2 separate regions of the Homo sapiens genome follow, and region 1 is linked to region 2. The links are contacts of gene promoters, found by promoter capture Hi-C in blood cells and fetal thymus (Javierre and others, 2016). All regions are on one chromosome and are shown on one strand. The core of a region is centred on a gene start or on the middle of the fragment in contact, and the rest is flanking DNA. Distances in the headings are between cores, read along the strand shown. Region 1 overlaps KIAA0319L (KIAA0319 like). Region 2 holds the start of CLSPN-AS1 (CLSPN antisense RNA 1).

Region 1 (5,225 bases), core at 543-3,042, 260 kb before region 2:
CGCCACGTTGGCCAGGCTGGTCTTGAACTCCTGACCTAAGGTGATTCACCCACCTCAGCCTCCCAAAGTACCAGGATTACAAGTGTGAGCCACCGTGCCTGGCCAAAGAATCTATTTCTAAACTAACATGTTTTGAAACACTGATCTACAAAATGATAGTAACCCACAGAAAGGTACATGCAAATATGGGTTAGGAAAGAAAATACAGTAGAGCCAAACATGTCTTTCACAAAAGAATGGTAGTAATCAACAGCTCAAGGCAGTCCCTCACCTCCAACTTCAAAAGCCACTAAACCCAATCACCTTAACTTGTCACCAGAGGAAGAAAGGAAAAAGCTTCTCTAGAGGAATGTGAAATGAATTGATAAGGAAACCTCGATTTGAGAGCAGAAATATAGAACAGACAGGGCATTTTGCTTCTGGAAAAGTACTTTTTGCATTAATATGCTATTTGGTATTAGGCCTAGAAATTAAGAATACTGTATTGGAGATGTGTGTACCTAAAATGGAAGGACCCCATCCTAAATAGGGAAGGACATTCTACTTGACTAACCTTTTAATGATAACATAAACCCAACTGGCTCAATTTCCATCAAAGTATGTACCACTCAAGTCCTAAATAGTGTTAAGAGAACCCATATGTGTTTGTAAGTCAAACTTTGGTATATTAACACATACTTCAAAGGTGAAAGTAATGTTCATATTACAAAAGTTTTCTTAAATAATGAATTAATCATCCATACTTTATATATTTTATAAACTTGAATTTTGTATATCACATTAGGCTTAGCTTTTTTTTCCCCCAGGGACAGGGTTCTCACTATGGGAAACGATGGTCCTTACAACGGTCCTGTGAGGATAGGATATAACCCGGGTATGCACAAATATTTATGGAATATGAGAGGTACTATATAATGTAGGGTTTGAGATCACAGGCTTTGATGTCACGCTTGGGTTCAAATCTCAGCTGAGCCACTCATTATCTGTGTGAATCTAAGTAAATGACTTCTCTTAATTTCCATTTCTTTCTCAATAAAATGGGGATAATAATTCCTACCTCATAAGATTACTTTAAGGGCAAAATGAGATAGTAGATAAGTTACCAGTTTAGTGCCTAGCATATAGCTGATGCTTATTAATATAGAACATATTTATTAGGTTGTATTTAAATCCATTTTAAGAGAAAGAAACTGAGACTCAGATTAATCTGTTTATTTTGGTCAAACAACCAGTAAATAGCAGATGTAGAACTTAGAAAGAAGTTATTCAAGATGACTGCTAATATAAATTTGTAACTTAAAAAAAATACATTTTTTCCTGACAGGAAGTCAGAGGAGGGAAAAAGATAAGGGCCAGGAGTGGTAGTGTATGCCAGTAGTTCCAGCTACTAGGAAGACTAAGGTGGGAGGATCTCCTGAGCCCAGGAGTTTGAGACCAGCCTGGACAACACAGCAAGACTCCATCTCTTTCAAAAACAAAAAACGGTTATCCAAATGTAAGGGGATGTTTACCTTTAGGTGGTTCTTGGAGAACATATGCATTTAATTGAACTTCATTCTTAGGCAGGGTTATCTGGACACTCTCTCCAGCAGATACCACCAGTTCCTTTATAACTGGAAACAAAGTAAATATACCAGAGATAAGAAATAGATCCAGACTGTCTTATTTCTCTCTTTCTTTTGTGATCAAACTCCTTTCATGATCAATATTCAGCTACTGCCATCAATTACTAACTTTTTTCTACTCTCTAATTGCTTGAAATTTGATTCTGTCCCCACTTTTCCATTGAAAAGGATCTTTCAAAACTACTTCTTAGTAAATCTAACAGCTGTACCCTAATACCCTCATTCTTCATCTCACATCTCAGTGGCTTCTACTATTGCTAACTGCCTCCATCTTAAAACTCTTGGATATCATGACACCATATTATTCTATTTTTCCTCCTTTCTCTCTTTTCCTCCACTGTATTTTTACTACAGTCTGTCCCTAAGCCCTCCCTATATACTACATTCCACAGAGTTCAAATCCTGTTTCAAGTATCACCTTTATGCTAACAAATAACTTTCTAATAAGATACATATATAAAGTTTCTAGAAGGGAAGGCAAATGGTTACAAATCTGCCTTACTTTCTTTCCATTCCAATTGCTACAAGATTCATTGTTCACACTAGATTATTCCAAGAATTTTTTTTTTCTTTTTGAGTCAGGGCCTCACTCTGTTGCTCAGGATAGAGTGCAGTTGTGTAATCATAGCTCACTGCAGCCTCAAATTCCTGGGCTCAAGCGATCTTCCCACCTCAACCTCCCAAGTAGCTGGGACTACAGGCATGCACCACCACGCCCAGCTTGCTTATCCCAAGAATCTTATTTTATCTTCCCTCTGCTAGCTCTCTCTACTCCAATCTATTCTGTCTTCCTAAAACAACCAACACCATTAGTCTTTCCAAAATACTCACCCACTATGTTACTCTTCTATTTAAGACTCCTGCTCCCATATCATATTTAAGGACAAACTTCCAACCTGCCATTAGAGAACCATCATCTGATCTCACTGTCTTATCCTTCCTATCTAATTTTGCCTCTAGTTACATTGATTTTCCCTCTTGTGTTCCACAAAGCCACGGTCTACTCTCAGGGACTTTGCTAAAGTTATTTCTTTCAACTGCGGTGTTTGCCTTGCTTTATTCTAAATACAGCATTTTGTTTCTAGCTTAAAGTCTGTCTCCTCTCCAAGAAATCTTCCCAGACCATTTCAGTTCAAACTGATCTAATCTTGAAGTATGCTAGCATTTTTGGAACACTCAAGTCAGCAAAGAGCTATATACTGTCTTTATACTATTCACCAGCTATTTCACATATGTCAGAGTTTCTCAAGCTCAGCACTCCTGATATTTTGGACCAGGTAATTCTTTGTCATGGAGGGAAATGTCCTGAGCACTGTAAGGTGTTTAACAGTATCACTGACCCATACTCACCAGACGTCAGTAGCATCACTCCCCTCCCCCAACTAAAAATGTTTGCAGACCACTGAAAGCCACCGATTATATAAATCTTATTTCTCTGACAATAAATGTTCATTTGCTATGAGACTTCAAAACTAGGAGAGCTTAAAGCAAACAATAGGCTAGTCCACTCATATTTCAAGCCTGGGAGGCGAGAAGGGCTTCCTAGACAAATATGAAACTTGAGATTTATCCGCCTCTGCATGGGAACATTGCACTTGAGGAGAAATGAAACCATCCTTAATGGAAGCTTCAGCATTTGGATGCCCCAGGAGATGGAATAAGAACTCTCTGAAGTGACTTTCAAAAAAAGAAAAGAAAGAAACATGATACTCAGAGAAAGTATAATGAACCAAAAAATGGCTATTCAAAACAGTTCAACCCAAACCCTTCACAATTACACCAAAAATTACAGGCATCTTGACTGGATACAAAAATTACTTTGGTGCCTCATGATTGAACCCCTAAAATTTCATGTTCTATTACTACCAAAGGACACCCTGAAAAATTAAAAATTGGCAAAAATTCATTATCACTGACTTTGCTTTTACCCTCTTGACTTTTTCAGGGGATAAAGACCAACTTAGTTTCTTGATTAACCAATTCTTCCTAATACCTTAGAACAGCACCTGTGAAGCACAGATTTATTTATACACTATGTATAAATCTACTTCTTATGAATGGCTTTAAAAATAAAGATGCTTCTCCAGGACACTGGTCTGAGCAAAAAAAAAATTCTTGAGTAATACCCCACAAGGACAGGCAACCAAAGCGAAAATGGACAAACGGGATAACATCAAATTAAAAAGCTACTGCACAGCAAAGGAAACAATCAACAAAGTGAAGAGACAACCCACAGAATGGGAGAAAATATCTGCAAACTCCCCATTTGACAAGGGATTAATAACCAGAATATATAAAGAGTTCAAACAACTCCACAGGAAAAAATTTAATAATCCCATTTAAAAATGGGCAAAATATTTGAACAGGGATTTCTCAAAAGAAGACCTACAAATGGCAAACAGGCATATGAAAAGGTTCTCGACATCACTGATCATCAGAGAAATGCAAATAAAAACTACAATGAGATGGCCGGGCGCGGTGGCTCACGCCTGTAATCCCAGCACTTTGGGAGGCCAAGGCGGACGGATCACAAGGTCAGGAGATCGAGACCATCCTGGCTAACACGGTGAAACCGCATCTCTACTAAAAATACAAAAAATTAGCTGGGCGTGGTGGTGGGCGCCTGTAGTCCCAGCTACTCGGGAGGCTGAGGCAGGAGAATGGCATGAACCCAGGAGGCGCAGCTTGCAGTGAGCCGAGATTGCGCCACTGCACTCCAGCCTGGGCAACAGAGTGAGACTCTGTCTCAAAAAAAAAAAAAAAAAAAAAACCTACAGTGAGATATCATCTCACCCCAGTTAAAATGGTTTTTATACAAAAGACAGGCAATAACAAATGCTGGTGAGGATGTGGAGAAAAGGGGAACCCTCGTACACTATTGGTGGGAATGTAAATTAGTACAACCACTATGGAGAACAGTTTGGAGGTTCCTCAAAAAAATAAAAATAGAGTTACCATGTGACTCAATAATCCCACTGCTGGGTCTATACCCAAAAGAAAGGAAATCAGTGTATCGAAGAGGTATCTGCACTCCCATGTTTGCAGCACTGTTCACAACAGCCAAACTTTGGAAGCAACCTAAGTGTCCATCAACAGATGAATGAATAAAGAAAATGTGGTGCTTATATACAATGGAGTACTACTCAGCCATAAAAAAGAATGAAATTTTGTCATTTCCAACAACATGGATGGAACTGGAGGTCATTATGTTAGGTGAATAAGCCAGGCACAGACAAACACTGCTTGTTCTCACTTATTTGTGGAATCTAAAAATCAAAACAACTGAACTCATGGAGATAGAGAGTAATGGTTAGATAGATGGATGGTTACCAGAGGCTGCGAAGGGTAGTGTGGGGGTAAGAGGGAGGGGGGGATGGTTAATGAGTACAAAAAAAAAAGCTAGAAAGAACAAATAAGACCTAGTATTTGATAGCACAACAGGGTGACTATAGTCAATAATATTTTAATTGCACATTTTAAAATAACTAAAATAATATAACTGGATTGTTTGTAACACAAAGGATAAAGGCTTGAAGGGATGGATACTCTATTTTACATGATGTGATTATTACACATTGCATGTCTGCATCAAAGTATCTC
Region 2 (5,397 bases), core at 261-2,760:
AAAGCTCTACCACTAACAATCCAGGGGGCTAGACCCTAAGGAGAAACAAGAGCTCACCATTCTTCTGCAGTGCTTTGGCTGTAACTTTCTTGGCCAGTATCATAAACTGACTGTCCTCCCCAATTTCTTCTTCTTCTTCAGCTGTAATTTTCCCCTGCTGTGCCTGAAAAAAAAAAAAAATATATATATATATATATATATATATACAGCATTAAAAGTCTATAACCTTCCTAAATAGTTAGCATGGCCTGGATTGTGAAACTAGAGTTCCTGGGGTATTTGTTTTCCTTTTTGCAGCCTTTGCTGCTTTAGACAAAAAAAAATTAATCTTAGACAAACATGAAGAGAACTGTCTATGGTATAGCCTTCTCAAAACACAAAAGATAGCTCAAGGATTAAAAGAGATAGCAATATGTTGCCTAAGATTTTGAAACTATCATGACAAGCTAAGATTTTGAAACTATCATGACAAGCTAAGGGACAGTCTCATAAACTAGGGTCAGAGTAGGTGAACTCCTACCATGTCCCGAAGCCACTGCTCTCGTTCAATTCGCTCCTTCCTCCACCTGGCTTCTGACTCATCAAGCTGTTCTTCAGTCTGATCATCATCAGAGTCTCTGTGGAACAAGTCCATCTGGGAAGCATCATCTAAACAAAGAGTGAAGGTAATCAGCATTCGGCAGTCCTCACAGGAGAGGGTGCTTGGACAGACAAAAAATAAACCCTTATCATTTACTATATAATGATGTAAACTTTTCCCATCCATTAACAGAAAACAGTTACAACTAGGTCTTCACATAGCCTGTTATAGTTTTGCTTGCCATTTGCCATCTGAAACTCGACAAATATGCATTGTAACTGTTTGCTTTTTTTTTTTTTTTTTTGAGATGGAGTCTCGCTCTGTCGCCCAGGCTGGAGTGCAATGGCATGATCTCTGCTCACTGCAACCTCCGTCTCCCGGGTTCACGCAATTCTCCTGCCTCAGCCTCCTGAGTAGCTGGGATTACAGGCGCGTGCCATCACAGCCTGCTAATTTTTGAACTTTTAGTAGGGACGGGGTTTCACCATGTTGTTCAGGCTGGTCCTGAACTCCTGACCTTGTGATCCACCTGCCTCTGCCTCCCAAAGTGTTGGGATTACAGGCGTGAGCCACCATGCTCAGCCCGTAACTGATTGCTTTTAAAGACAACAACCAAGATACCTATGTTTTTCCATCGAAACTTCCTCATTCGCCCAGGACCATCGCTGTGCAGATCCCCATCAGCAAGGTACCTCTCTTGGTATAAACGTAGCTGTCGCTTATCATCATCCAACATAGTTTTCCTGCAACAGGAGAAATAAGGTGTTCAAAACAAGGACCATTCTGGCTGGTTACAGGGCTTGTCTTAAGATGTACCCTATTACTCAGAAGGGCTTATTGGGATACTGACATGTGTATTTTCTTGATTTGACTCTGCAGTTCCTCATCAGAAGGAAGTACTTCATCAATTACGTCCTCTTCATATTCATCAATTTCTTCCCCATCATACTCATCTTCGCTTCCCACATCACTTCCTGACACCTCTGCCTCATCCTCCAGGTATTTCCTCAACCTCCTAGAAAGCAATTTTGAGGATTAGAAAATGCAACAATGAATATACTCACAGAATATGGAAGCAAAGAAAAGCAGAACAGAGTCACTTCTAATAATAATAAACATAATACATTTGATAATATTTAAATTTTTTTGTAATAGTCTCCACTTATGATGGTTTGACTTAATGATTTTTCAACTTTACGATGACATGAATGTGATACGCACTTAGTATGCTTCTCGATTTACGATGGAGTTATATCTGGATAATATGAAAGTGCATTTTCAACTTATGATGGATTGATCAGGATATAGTCCCATTGTAAGATGTGGAGCATCTGTATTTAAAAGTTGATCACTTAATATGTCTTGTGTGCTAATAACTGTGCTTTACAGGCATTAACATATTATCATAGGAATGGGTACTATTATTCTCTTCATTTTACAGTTGAGGGAATTGAGCCTCAGAAAGATTACATTTACCCAAGGTCACATAGCTAGAAGGTAGCAGAGCCTGGATTCAACTTAGATTGGGTGATTTGAAAGCCAGAAAACTCTTAATCTCTTTTACATGTATTAGAATACCTGCTGGAAGGTTCAAACTATTTCATTTTGCATTTGAGCACACCAGCTTTAAGAGACAAACTAGAGATGGTGTGGTGTAGAAAGGTAATAAACTGGGATCTTCTTACAGCCTAACAAATCTTGACCCCCACATCAGAAGGAAGACTAAGGCTCAGAGCTCCTGGTAATCAAAACGACTAGTTACTTCTTATGACTTCAGCTCCCCCGGAGAATAAATCTGGTGTCACCCTGGATTCAAAGTCACCTTGGTCCCATGTGGTCCAAAATGGCAGAAGTTTGGTGGCTTTCTGAAAACTGATTTTTATCGAAGACCTATACTGTATTTTCTCTTTTTTTTTTTTTTTGAGATGAAGTGTCGCTCTGTCGCCTAGGCTGGAGTGCAGAGATGCCATCTCGGCTCACTGCAACCTCCACCTCCTGGGTTCAAGTGATTCTCATGCCTCAACCTCCCGAGTAGCTGGGATTACAGGTGCGTGCCACCATGCCTGGCTAATTTTTGTTTTTTTAGTAGAGATAGGGTTTCACCATGTTGGCCAGGGTGGTCTTGAACTCCTGACCTCAGGGGATCTGTCCATCTCAGCCTCCCAAAGTGCTGGGATTACAGGCATGAGCCACCACGCCCAGCCTATACTGTATTTTCTTAAAGCTAAGTTGTTCTAAATCCTAGAGTTCCTGGAAAATTCCTTCAGAGGCCACTAGTCACTAAGTTTCCCAAACTTCCCACTTACCATCTTTGAACAGTTCAACTTTTATCTGTCATTCTTTAAAAGATTTTATTTGAACAAAGAGCTCTGCAGAGAAGAACCACTACCTTAGAAAAATCTATGGATAACCTAAAGCTGTATGAGAGTTAATTTGATAGGTGATAAATTAGAACCCAAAGTGAATCTTAATAGAATGAAATGATGGGATAAAAGCAACCATATAAATCTAATAGGGATCAATATGATGTCCTATATGTGAATTCCAAATCATTCACATACAATATAATATTAAATACCTATTAGAATTATCTTTATAAAACTTTTTTTAACATCATAGGAAAATGTTTCTGGATATGCTAAGTAGAAAAAAAAAGATGCAAAATTATACATATAGAAAGATTGTACAAATCTCAACTATATAAAAATATATGCATAAAAAAGATTAAGGGGAACAAACTAACTTTCATTTATATCCTGGATGGTGGACATGGATAAGTTTTTATTTATATCTTTCTGTATTCTTTTTTTGCGGGGGTCGGGGAGAATGGAGTTTCTCTCGTCGCCCAGGCTGGAATGCAATGGCACAATCTCAGCTCACTGCACCCTCCACCTCCCGGTTCAAGCGATTCTCCAGCTTTGCCTCCTGAGTAGCTGGGATTACAGGCACTGGCCATCACGCTTGGCTAATTTTGTATTTTTAGTAGAGACGGGGTCTCGCCATGTTGGCCAGGCTGGTCTCGAACTCCTGACCTCAGGTGATCCACCCGCCTCAGCTTCCCAAAGTGCTGAGATTATAGGCGTGGGCCACTGCACCCAGTTTGTATTCTTTTAAATATCCTAAAATAAATATTTTACTTTCATGACCAGAACAGCATATCAAAAAAATGAGTTGGGCCGGCCAGGTGGGGTGGCTCACGCCTGTAATCCCAGCATGTTGGAAGGCCAAGGCGGGTGGATCGTGAGGTCAAGAGATCGAGACCATCCTGACCAACATGGTGAAACCCCGTCTCTACTAAATATACAAAAATTAGCTGGGTGTGGTGGCACGTGCCTATATTCCCAGCTACTCAGGAGGCTGAAGCAGGAGAATCGCTTTGAACCCGGGAGGCGGAGGTTGCAGTGAGCCGAGATCATGCCACTGCCCTCCAGCCTGGGCGACAGAGCGAGACTCCGTCTCAAAAAAAAAAAAAAAAAAAAAAAAAAAAGCTGGGCCTGGTGGCTCATGCCTGTAATCCCAGACTTTGGGAAGCAGAGGCAGGAGGATCACTTGAGGCCAACAGTTTAAGACCAGCCTGGGAACAAAGCAAGGCCCCATCTCTACAAAAAATAGAAAGAATTAGCCAGGTGTGGTGGCACATGCCTGTTGTCCCAGCTACTTGGGAAGCTGAGGCAGGAGGATTTAAGTTAAAAAGTGGCAAACTATTAACTGACTGTTAGGGGAGATTTCACCTAATCTAAGTTGAATCCAGCCTCTGCTGCCTTCTAGCTATGTGATCTTGGGTAAATTTAATCTTTCTGAGGCTCAGTTCCTTCAACTGTAAAATGAGGAGAATAATAGTACCCACTCATAAGATAATTTTTTTGAGATGGAGTCTTGCTCTATCACCCAGGCTGGAGTGCAGTGGGGCAATCTTGGCTCACTGCAACCTCCGCCTCCCATATTCAAGCAATTCTCCTGCCTCAGCCTCCCAAGTAGCTGGCACTACAGGCGCCCAGAACCATGCCTGGCTAATTTTTGTATTTTATTTTGTATTTTGTATTTTTAGTAGAGAGGGTTTCACCATGTTGGTCACGCTGGTCTCAAACTCCTGACCTCAAGTAATATGCCTGCCTTGGCCTCCCAAAGTGCTGGGATTACAGGCGTGAGCCACTGTGCCTGGCATAAGATAATATGTTAATGCCTGTAAAGCACAGTTATTAGCACACAGGACATATTAAGTGATCAACTTTTTTTTTTTTTTTTTTTTTGAGACAGAGTCTCGCTCTGTCACCCAGGCTGAAATGCAGTGGTGCGATCTCGGCTCACTGCAACCTCCACCTCCTGGGTGCAAGCGATTCTCCCTGCCTCAGCTTCCTGAGTAGCTGGGACTACAGGCACCTGTCATCACATCTGGCTAATTTTTATATTTTTTAGTAGAGACAGGGTTTCACCATGTTTGTCAGGATGGTCTCGATCTCTTGACCTGTGTCACCAAGACCAGGCTGGTCTTGAACTCCTGACCTCAGGTGATCCGCCTGCTTCAGCCTCCCAAAATGATGGGATTACAGGCGCAAGCCACCATGCCTGGCCTAGTGACCAAATTTTAAATACACCTGAAGGAATGGACATATTAATAACACGTACATTTGCCTTTTCAACTTCTCAGATCGCTTCAGGAGTTCTTCTTCATCATCATCTTCATGGTCTTCCAGTGCCAGATCATTACCAGAGTCACTGTGTTCATCCTACAAAATCAGCATCATATCCAAATTAAGCAGAATAAAATGCGTCCTCAATGAAAAAAGGATTTATAAACATCTGCCCAAATACCTCAT

The links. Contacts are between HindIII fragments. The CHiCAGO score rates a contact against its expected background, and 5 or more counts as called.
Region 1: a contact is called between a fragment that was not itself captured here and the fragment with the promoter of CLSPN-AS1 in region 2, in 7 of 17 cell types (M1 macrophages, endothelial precursors, naive CD4 T cells and 4 more). The highest score is 5.6, in M1 macrophages.

What each region holds. Positions count from the first base shown.
Region 1 is chr1:35,473,294-35,478,518 of GRCh38, forward strand. It overlaps KIAA0319L (KIAA0319 like), which reads right to left. Exons shown (of 21, transcript NM_024874.5): 5 at 1,512-1,613. Among named protein-coding and RNA genes, the nearest start is that of KIAA0319L, 81 kb to the right of the region's middle. The HindIII fragment of the contact is 2,916 bases long and covers 335-3,250 here.
Region 2 is chr1:35,737,935-35,743,331 of GRCh38, forward strand. It overlaps CLSPN-AS1 (CLSPN antisense RNA 1), which reads left to right and starts at 1,511. Exons shown (of 2, transcript NR_199043.1): 1 at 1,511-1,579; 2 at 5,229-5,397. It overlaps CLSPN (claspin), which reads right to left. Exons shown (of 25, transcript NM_022111.4): 18 at 5,207-5,307; 19 at 1,431-1,595; 20 at 1,202-1,323; 21 at 521-648; 22 at 58-163. RefSeq lists enhancers at 360-861, 605-1,804. The HindIII fragment of the contact is 7,776 bases long and covers 1-5,397 here.